3 separate regions of the Homo sapiens genome follow, and all the other regions are linked to region 3. The links are contacts of gene promoters, found by promoter capture Hi-C in blood cells and fetal thymus (Javierre and others, 2016). All regions are on one chromosome and are shown on one strand. The core of a region is centred on a gene start or on the middle of the fragment in contact, and the rest is flanking DNA. Distances in the headings are between cores, read along the strand shown.

Region 1 (3,374 bases), core at 670-3,169, 210 kb after region 3:
CTTTAGGAGACCAAGGCAGGAGGATCACTTAAGCCCACGAGTTTGAGACCAGCCTGGACAATATAGCAGGACCTTGTCTCTACAAAATATTTTTAAAATTAACCAAGTGTGGTGACATGCACCTGTAAACCCAAGTACTTGAGAGGCTGAGGTGGGAGGATCACTTGAACTCAGGAGGCAGAGGTTGCCGTGAGCTGCACTCAGACCACTACTGCACTCCAGCCTGAGAAGCAGAGCAAGACTCTGTCTCCAAAAAAAACTTTAAAGCAAAAGATCATTCCCACAAATCTCCAAGGAGTAAACAGAAATGAAATGATGGGGCTTCAGGTAGTTCCTCCTTAGTTACTGAAGAATCTTTTAAATATGTTCATAATTATAATCTGGATTCAAATTCTGGATACCATTGAAATCAGGAGTTTCAAATGGAGAAAGCTAGAGGTACCCACATAAATGATCTAGTACCTATTTCTATTGCTTCCTGTTTCTTTTCTTTAAAACTCATCCTATAAATAGCATTCAAGTAGATAGAAAATCTTATATTTAGAAGAAAATATAAGAAAAATCTTATATGTAGAAGAAATCATCTATAGTGTAAACAAAAGATAGAGACCTTTGTGAAATATCTCCTTCAAACACAACAATAGAGAAGAATGTTGTTTTTCCCTTGTAAAAAGCAATGTCACTTAAAGACCTGGAGTTGTTTCATTAATTCTCTTAGGCAAATTAAATTATCTAATTCAACATGACATGAAATAATGCAAAAGTAAATTACTTTATCTGGCTTCCAAAAATACTAAAACTACTTTTCTCAAGAAACTAAGCAATACTTAGAATACATTCTATTACCAGGGTCAACCTTGTTTCTGAATTACAGTGATGGGATAGTGAAGACAGGAGGCAGTCTCCCTTTGAAATTCTCCAACCAACATGTATTATCTATCAATCAGAGAACAGTTAACTGCATTTTCTTTTAAGTTTATTGATGTTGCTGCCAGCCTGCAATGTTTGCATCAGGACACTCTATACCCTGTTTCAAACCCATACTAACAAAGGAAAAGGGAGACACGAAAAAGGGAAATAATATTCAAAAATATCCAGATCCCACTCTGGGCTTTTTTTCATTAAATTCTCACGTTTCCAACTTCAGTTTCTCCTTAATAAATATTTGTGGTGGTGTAAAATGTGTTCCTCACCCACATTATGTACTTTTTATCAGTGGTAATACTATGAGAAGTGAGAATGTTGTATTGTAGTTACTTTAAAATGATTTTGTAAATATCATATTGTAGAGGTTTGACTGAATAATCAAGAAAGAAAATGCCAAAGTATGGAAACAAACATACTGGTACTAGTTAAATCAGAGTTCCTTCATCTTAACTTTGTTATTTCAGAAAATCTTTAAAATTGAGAGTGCGGTTCAACCACAAGACATTTTAAAGAGAGAAGCAGGACTCAACTGAATTGAAATGAGCGTCATTATTCTATCTTTCTTCCTATACCATACTTGAGTCCTGATGACTTTCAACAATGGCCTCTGCTAAAAGTATCATTCCTTGAAGTGGGTTCTGCAGTGGACATGTGTGTGTATGTGTTGTCAGTATATGTAATTTTGCTTTTACAATGTTGGCAGTAAGAAGAAGCCTTCTAATTTTATTCAGCATGATGATAGGCCCTAGCATTTTAATTATTTTTTATGTTGTGAGTAATTTATTATTCACTGGCTATCTTCCCTGTAAATCTTGTCCTCGCTCTGTAAGGTTTTTCTTTGGTGTCCAACAAAGGGTTTCATTGCAATAAGAATCAAGGTGTGTCTAAATTCTTACCCAGAGCCCAAACAATGCCAGTCTTCCAGACCAGCCTGGGAGTTTGGGGTGGGGAAACAGTCATTATAGAATATCTTCATCTCTCTGCCCAGAGATCACCACAGTTATCACCCATGCCCTCCTAAAAGGGTGTCTCAAAGCATATCTTTCTGTAGAGCAGAATTCGGAACTGAGAAGACGAGGGCTCAAATTGAATCTCACAGGATTTGCGTGCAAGAGAAACCCAAAGGAATGGATTGGCTCTTCTTCAGAAACATTTGCCTTTTGATCATTCTAATGGTAAGTAGAATTTAAAGAGGTGGGAAGGAAATGCAGCCTCAAGGTCTTGTCTCTGTCAACTGTCGGGCTTTCTACATGGGATTTATTCCATTTTTAATCTCCTTCCTGCAAAGAGAGTTCTAGAAGTCCAGCCTCTGTTAATTTCAAACAACTCTCTCCGCCTTGAGGAACAAAATGCCATAGAGAAGCGGGGTGAGAATCTGGCTGAATTAAATTTATATGCCCTCAGAGACATAATCTACTTCACTTTGAGTGTTAGGACTATTCTAAAATTTTAAATTGGAAATAAAATTCATATTCTATGATCATATAAATAAATCAGATAGATTGCTGTGAAAACTGCCAGTGCAAATGGGTTCTAAATTTGAAGGGAAGTTAATCAAACCCATTTCTTTTCAATAGTTATTTCCCTATGAGTTTCTTTCAAAGTGGAGGAATGATAGCCATGTTGAAATTACATTGCAACTAATGATGACATACTAAAGTCATGAGAACTTTTTCCAGTCAGATATTGCTAAAGAAAAATGAAGCCCAGCCATCAAGACAAAACTTTTCTGGAATTATGAATGCATTCCTACAGACCAGCAAAGAAATATTTAAATGACTTATTTCTTTACAGTAAACATGGCATCTTGGATATTATATTTCTTTCCTCTAACCTTTGGGTGCCCAAGGTGTGACATGATTTCCAGACAGGCAGCATGCATAGCAAATATCCTACCCTAGAAAGAGATAATTCCAACTCCAAAGAAGAACAAAGTTCCAGTTGGCCAATCAACAAACTATTGCCAATTCTGGGAGGGTAAGAGGACAGGATTATTAGGAACTGTACAAATTTTTCAAAGTAAATTAAGACAAATGCATTATAGTTGGCCACACTTCAATCTCCCAGGAGTATCCAGGTTAGCGCTACAACCTAAGCTTAGAAAGTGATTCCCATCCTATTCTTAGGCAAGTGGCAATTATACCAGACTCCTCTGAACATCAGTTGTAAGAGACAGAGAGTAGCTAGGGCTGGGAGAGATGGGAGCACGTCATTGTCCAAGAGGCACAGTGAGAGCTACTCTTCTGGAATTCACATTTCTAAACTTCAAGAGCAGTGCGGGAGCCGAACACTGCCAAAGGGCACACAACCCCAAGCTCAAAAGGGAACGTGACAACAGTGGTAGAATATTGCATCCTCTGAGTTTAGGAGACAGATTATTAAACAATACCATTTTTGAAAAATATTTTTAAACTTAAAAACATAAGACGAAGGGCAATATTCTGTTA
Region 2 (3,862 bases), core at 1,106-3,605, 160 kb after region 3:
GTGAATACGGAAATGAAATGGTTTGTGTTGCCTATGTTTTAAAGTATCTTAACTCATTGGCATTAGGAAGGAGGACCACTAAGTCAGGAAAAGGGACAGGACCAACTGAGATAAGAGTACATGAAGGAAAACTAATTAAATGTGCTCATTGAAAGCTGGAACAATGGTGGGGTTCTCAATTAAGAAAAGGCATAGGGTAGATTGAGAGAGGTGAGTTTGTAAAAACCGGAAGTTAAGGTTTGGAGTAAGAGAGAAGATAGACAACAAAAGCAATGATGTCTGCACTGTCCAATATGGTAGCCACTAGCCACATGTGGTTATTTAAATTTAAATTAAGCAAAGTTAAATATTCTCTTCCTTAGTCATAATAACCATATTTTAAATCCTCAATAGTCACATATTATAAATGGCTACCATATCTGACAGCATAGATAGAGAATATGTTCGTATTGCAGAAAGTTCTACTGGATAGCACTGTTCTGAGGACGTTAAAATGAGTAAGAAAGAGAAAAAGGCAGGGAAGGAGGCAAGGGAGAGAAAGTGATTAACAAATTCCCTCTCCCGCTGTGTTTAACATCGTATTGGCTCTCATGTAACTGCCAAGACAGACGCTGCTCTGCAGTATTGGAGTTCTATCACACCTCCTCTCCAGAAAGATGTTTGAGAGATTGCTGCCTTATGAATCCCCTAGTCATATAGGATTGTTGGAGCAAGGCATTGAGTTAGGGGTGGAGCCAGGGTTAGGTTTAAGGAAAGGTAATTTAATGGATGAAGGAGGCCCCCATGCATGCCCTAGCATCATGCCCAGAATCCGAGATGCATAAAACATTGACTCGCCACTGGAAAGCTGCAAGAGTAGGTGCAGTTGTCTCTGGTGCCCAGTGAGTCTTCTGCTATTCATGGTCAGACAACATGATACTAATATATTGCTCAGACTAAGTCATAGGTTAATACAGTCTATTTTATTTGACATTTCTCATTAGAGAAAATCGGCCAGCTCATCTTTCTAAATTTTATTTATTTACATCTGCTATTTACAATCATAAACATTCTTATTCACTGCAAATAAACATGGGCAGCCTATCTCCTCCCCTCCACACTGTATGATGGATAATATGGAAATTCAAACCACACATCTTCTTTGCCACAAATCTGTAGTGAAATGACAGCCTTCTATAGACCCTCTGACCCTCAGAGATTTTCTTCCTTTTGGAGACATTTTGAGTATCTTTTTGACCATAATCAACATCTTATCAGGTAGGTCTCTTGTTCTAAGTAGCCGTTTCAAACTCTGAGGGTGTCCAGTGTCTATGAGCTTCCTGCCACTCACAATATTTATACTAGACGTTGCCAGGGGAAGAGAAGAGAGTCCAAAAATATGTCCAAATGCTGCCCTGTGAAGGTTGCTATTTATTTTCACAAACCTCAGGGCTGCATTCAGTTTCCCGTCTACCTGTGTAGGCAGCCATTTCTTCAGTGTATTCCCTATGTTCTAATTGGCTCGCTGTACAGATTCTTGGCTCTGTGCTTAGGAATTGTCATTGACTTTTAACCCACCTCACCTGCTGAGCAGCTTTCTGTGTTTTCATTAGTATTTCAGGCACCGAATCTCATTTTTAAAGTTATTATCAGGATTTTAATTGGTGGTTCTCACTATTCACCCTTAAGTTTAGTAATATTTAAATTTTTATTTTGTTGCATTTAATAAAAGAATCATAAAGAAAGAAAAATAATTAGGGAGAGAAAATAATTTCTTTAGAGGGAAAATGGAGGATTCCTTAGACTGAAGGCTGGTCAGTTAATGGGAATTGTGACTTATGCAGAGGATCTAATAATTGTAAGTATCATGGTTTTACTTGTTTGAATTAATAACTTTAAAAAATCTCAGTCTTGCATTAGCATATTTTCTGTCTCTTAACAACCGAAAATAACTGAAACTTTCCCAACATCTACTAAAATGGAAAGTTTGTCATTTTCTACTATGACCTGAGGGTTTGGCTACAAACAGATAATGGAATGAATAAGATGAGCATTCAAGTTATACCTGCCTGTTTAATATGGGGAGAAACTAAACCACCTGTAAAGAAAGCATGGGGTGAGAAGCCCCCATCACCTGTATAACCCTCGGTATTTCTGTTCACTTTAAGAGCCTGCCACTGAAAACATTCAGTAAAGGAGTGAATCTTCCTTGCCCCATCAAGAGTCGCTTTTCAGCTGGAGGAAGGGTGTGTCCCCAAGTTTTTACCTGGGAGCAATGATGATCTTGTCAAGCATTTCAGTGAGACCAGCCCAAGTTTTTAGGGTGGGGATCCAGACTGGTTATACGTACCTTCAGTCCTTCTCCCAGAGGAAGGCAGAAACACCTCAAAGCCTGCATGTAAGAACATCTACTGAGAAATTATTTTAATCAGACACCAGCTGAGTGGGAGAAAGAAAAAGAACAGAGAAGAACAAACAAAACTCCCTTGGTCTTGGATGTAAGAGAATCCAGCAGAGATGGACTGGAGTTTCTTCAGAGTAGTTGCAATGCTGTTCATTTTTCTGGTGAGTGGATTCTGGTAAAAGTCCTTCATAATCGTGCCCATTGTAAACAAGTGAAAACTTTTTAGAAAATGTTAGTGGGCATTATTTCTAACCTAAACCCATTGAAAATGTATATTAATGACAAGATGATTTTATGAACTAGATTTTTCAATAGCATTTCTCTCTTTAATTGAAGACTCAAGATCATGTTAATGCCTCAGTGTCAACTCATTGTATTACATCTCTGACACTGAAGTCATTGCTAAGTCATGCTGGGAAAAGACTGAATTTAGGAAATTCCTATCGCTAGTTAGTAGCACTTTGTCGTTCAAAATCTCTTCTGCAAGAGGGCTTTTAAACTAAATATCACAAGTGTGTCTGGATTTTTAACCTGTTTTTTTTTTTATTTTTTTTGTGTGTTTGGTGGTGGAATTACTCTAATTTTTAAAACATAAAAATAGCACCACATAATTTAAAATCGTAGCAGTTTGTGGCTGGTCTCGCTATCCAAATAAAGTCATCAGTTGCATATTTGGTTAGAATCTGTATCACTACTATAAAAAGCCCCGCACTATTTAACTATGATTTTATTTAAAACATTTTTAATTTCAAAAAACGGCAGTACAGGAGGTTTATAAATGACATATTAAGTGAAGAAGTGGCTATAATTAAAGAGTAAGTATAATTATTATTACACTCGATCTTACTACTGGAATGTCAGTGATGACTGCGATATAAAAGTTGTGCACTTGATCGTCTGACGAATGTAATGAAATACTTTATCATTGCCCCCTTACATGTAATTAGTTTTCTTGCTGTAGAGATAATACTAAGTGCACCACTAATGTATTATGTCAATTTCACTTTCAGTGAAAATTTGAAAATTGTAATCTCTCTCATAGTAAGGTTAATGTAATTCAAAAAGGCAGGTGCCAAGTAAATTGCCCTCCAGCTTGGCAGGATGTATAGTGCTGTGGTTCACATTTGTTTCTACTTGCTTAATTTTTGAACTGGAATGTTGGGTTGGTTGGTATAATAAGTTAGATCTTTGATTCAAAGTATGCTGGTTAGTTTGAATTCAGTTTTATTAACTAAGGCGGGACATAATCAGTGGATTTAGTTATAAATGAGCATCAGTAAGCTGGTGGCTTTGGTTCCAAGCTTTCCTTCAAACATTAGTCCTATCCCATGCTCTTTTCAGTGGATATTTAGGATCAGTTGATTTCATTACTTAGGATTTGGTAGGGATCACTGATCATTATACAGTATGTCATTTGAAATATGAGAGTTTCATATTGTCAGTAATCAAGCACTTTTACTTAAAATTTCAAATAAATTT
Region 3 (3,601 bases), core at 432-2,931:
TTGTGTAACTAAACATTTTTAGATATAGAAAAAGTACATTAAAATACAATATAAAAGATAAAAAATGGTTCACCTATACAGACGAGCTCCATTATAATCTATGGGACCACTCATATATGTAGTCCATCATTGACTGAGGCATTGTTTTGCAGAGCATGACTGTATATGTGCGTGTGTGTATATATATATAAATGTACATATATATATATAAATATATGAGACATTCTTATAGTTATATCCACACTTCCACTCCCACCCCCATCTTCTTTCCTTCTTGTCCTAGGATTCCATGTTGATGGTCCTCCCTCTGCAGGCAGAGCCACTGAAGGTTTCCATTCATTAAATACTATTCCCGTCTTCAGGTTAAATCACTGACTAAGTGGCTTAGTGACACCCTTTTAGTCAGTTTCAGAGTCAGAAATAAATAAACAGGAGATGAATTGTCCAAGAGATATTAGACAGTACAGGGATCAGAAGCAAAAGAAATGTGGGTAGAATCCTTTGAAACATTTTTACCACATTTTACCAAACTTGTACTAACTTAAGATGGTATCTGAGTTATCGTCTCCCTAAGCAGTTACAGGATGAGAAGGTGACCATCAACCCTGCATTGTATATTATTTACATGGAGAAAATGTTTGTCCTCATACCTGCCATTTCTAAAAATATATTTTGAAACTCAAGTATTTTGCTAAAATGAAAAAATAGGAAACTCACACCTCAGAAATGATGGACGGATGTGTGAAATAACCCCCCTCTCTTCCCTCACCTCCAAAGAAAAAATAGCACCTTACACAGTTACAAAGCTATTAAAAACCCAAGTGGAAGCCAAGTTGAGGATATTTTCAATGACAGTCACATTTTTGTTATTTTTCTTAAACTATTCTTTGCTTAAACTGCTTCGTGGGTAAAATTCAAAAAGTCCTGGATAATTTGCATGTTCACCCAGAATCCTTTCTCTTTTTTTGCAGCTTAGTAGAACTCAGCATGTTAAATAACATGAGTTTATGTAATCACTGGTAGCAGAAGTAAACCTCAGAAACTTCTGGGCCAAATGCCTAAAGAATGAATTCACTTCTCTACTCTTAGAAAATCACCACAGCAGGATGGAAGAGGGATTCCCTTGAAAACTTTTAACACTCTGGCAGTGGGTGCTTGAGAAGTAAGCTGAACACTTTCCATCCTGAATCCCAAGCCTCTCAACTCTTCCCTGAATCTTCCTCAGATCTGCTTTTGTTTTCCCCAATCTCTCTTCTCTGCCTCCCATCCTCACTCCTAGTCTCTTTCAAGCCCAAACTGCAGAGAGGAAGCAGGTAGTAACATGCTTGAATTCCCTAATCCTTTGGTTGTTACTCACCAGGAGAGAGAAAAGGAGCTGCTTACAGAAGATGCTCCCTGGGGCAGCAGAGGCCAGAGCCATCAGAAGCAGTCCCAATGGCCAGGGACGGTGGCCAGATAACAGGGCAGCCTGGGATGCACAGAGCGGCTAAGAAGACGCTGGCACTTGCACAGGGTATTCTGCTGCCACCTTGATGCAGCTGAGCTTGGTTTGGAAGACAGTCCGGAGGCAAGTGATAAACAGTAGGAGGAGCAACGGGAGAATTTCTTTCCCCCTATTCCCTGGCCAGTCTCCTTCCTTCCAGTTCAATTACGTCTAAATGCAAAGAGGCTTTCCTACAAGTGAGGAGGGTGGGGTACAAAACACCCCAAAACCCAGTCAGTAGCTCCTCCTCACAGCAGCTTTCAAAATTTCTCTTGCCACTTAACACATAGGCAGAAGGAGGAGGGAACACCCTTCATCCTCAGCCCTCCTCCCTTTCCCCCAGGTTGATGCTGTGAAGTCCTCCCCAGTTATTACCCACTCCCACAGCCTCCCCTCCTTCTTGGCCTTATTAACCTGTCTTGCCCTCGGGTACAAACATAAATTGTGCACAAACGCCATGCAAGGAAGTGATGCCTCCTCAACTGCCATTGGCAAATCAGAGGACCTAAGCGTGTGTAATCACACTCATCAGAAGTTATCTCCCATCTAAGCATTTAAGTGTCATCGGTCCTGTAGAACACTGTAGTTCTGCTAGAGAACTGGCATTCCAGTTTAAAGCAGCAACTTCATAAAGGCATGGTATCTACTTCCTGTTATTGACTATTCACTGTGGTTGGTTCTCTAGATGTCACAGGAAACTTATCAGAATGTAAAGACTTCATAAAAGAAAGAGAATAAAGAAATAGCTAGCATATAATCTTTCTTGTGGCTTTCCTTTTGTTGTACAAGATGCCACTGCTTTTTACCTTTATATTTTTTCAAGGACAACTACAATCTTTGAGAGCAAGTCTCTCTAAAATCACTCTATTCACCCTAATTACTTGTACATTACACATAGGATATCCTAGCTTAATAGTACAATCAGGCCATCAAGTGTAGATTTTTTTAAACCCTAATGATTCCTCTAACAAGAGCTTTAGCATCATTATTCCTGTCCCAAATTAGTGAGCTCAGTGATACCAATTGCACTCAATGGCAGTGATGGAAGTTAGGACAGAAGGATAAATATTTTCAAATGTTAAGGTAGAGCCCAACACCCATGCTGCTGAGAAGGGAGGAAAGAAAGGTTTTCTTCAGCTTATTTGACAATGGGAACAATTTCTCCTTGTATGTAGAGACAGAAATAAATGTAACTGCTTCATTAGAATTAGAAGCTAGGAAGATTTGGAAAATGAATGACCCAGGAGAAAAAAAACTAAAAGATATCTTGTAGTATTTTATTGCTAGTGGTATACCCACTAATAAACATATTTTGTGACTGCATTGGAATTTGATTTCTCAATCAGAAAATACAGTCATTTTAATGGAATATTTTTATATCTGGCGTTTTGGGAGAAAAGAATGGGAATATAGAAATAGAAAAATTACTTAGATGTATATGTGTACAGCCAAGTGTAATTCTGTGCATGTTTAAGCATCATCTAAGTATATATTTAGATAGATAGATAGACAGATAAATAGATAGTCATACAGCTTAAATAATTCAAAGACAAATTCTCCAACCCTAGAAAATAGAAACACATTTTTTTCAGCTAATGAAGTTATCATTACCTTTTTCTATAACATGATATTCTCCACTGAACTAGGAAGATATAGAAGAGCAAAATTAAATTGGTGTTACTGAAAAAATGGCATATATTGGTTGGATGAAGAGATTCCAGGCACTGCTCAATTCAAATGAATCCAGAATACTCTCCACAGTTCTGGGAAGTTGATGTTCTGATCCTACTTCTTTTGGCCTACTTTCTGCGTGCTCTCTTTTCCCATTATCTATCTTTCTCAAAGGTAATAGAAAAACTTGTGTAAAAGCTAACCCCAAATTATTGGTTTGCAAATCTGTTACATTACTATTTCTCCCATATTTTGTATTTGCACACAAAGGTTTCCTAAAAATAAAATATAGGCACTTTATAGGAAAAAATAATTTATTATTACAAATTATTGACTCTTCCTTAAACGTGAATCTACCTTAAAATTAAATGAAAACAAGACATATTTCTTCCAATTTTCTGGCATTAGATCATTCAGTAAGAGCTCTGTCTTAGTCTGTTTTCTGCT

Evidence for each region. The method cuts DNA at HindIII sites, captures the fragments that hold promoters and counts their contacts. A CHiCAGO score of 5 or more calls a contact.
Region 1: the fragment with the promoter of DSG4 here is called in contact with the fragment with the promoter of DSC1 in region 3 in 8 of 17 cell types (erythroblasts, M1 macrophages, neutrophils and 5 more); the score reaches 8.0 in erythroblasts.
Region 2: the fragment with the promoter of DSG1 here is called in contact with the fragment with the promoter of DSC1 in region 3 in 2 of 17 cell types (neutrophils and monocytes); the score reaches 6.7 in neutrophils.

The regions. Positions count from the first base shown.
Region 1 is chr18:31,374,858-31,378,231 of GRCh38, forward strand. DSG4 (desmoglein 4) reads left to right here and starts at 1,920. Exons shown (of 16, transcript NM_177986.5): 1 at 1,920-2,102. The coding sequence starts at 2,055. The region is part of intron 1 of DSG1-AS1 (DSG1 antisense RNA 1); the gene reads right to left. The HindIII fragment of the contact is 4,758 bases long and covers 1-3,021 here.
Region 2 is chr18:31,315,805-31,319,666 of GRCh38, forward strand. DSG1 (desmoglein 1) reads left to right here and starts at 2,356. Exons shown (of 15, transcript NM_001942.4): 1 at 2,356-2,544. The coding sequence starts at 2,497. The HindIII fragment of the contact is 11,545 bases long and covers 1-3,682 here.
Region 3 is chr18:31,161,175-31,164,775 of GRCh38, forward strand. DSC1 (desmocollin 1) reads right to left here and starts at 1,682. Exons shown (of 16, transcript NM_024421.2): 1 at 1,358-1,682. The coding sequence starts at 1,420. It overlaps DSCAS (DSC1/DSC2 antisense RNA), which reads left to right. Exons shown (of 4, transcript NR_110785.1): 4 at 1,361-1,615. The HindIII fragment of the contact is 8,252 bases long and covers 1-3,601 here.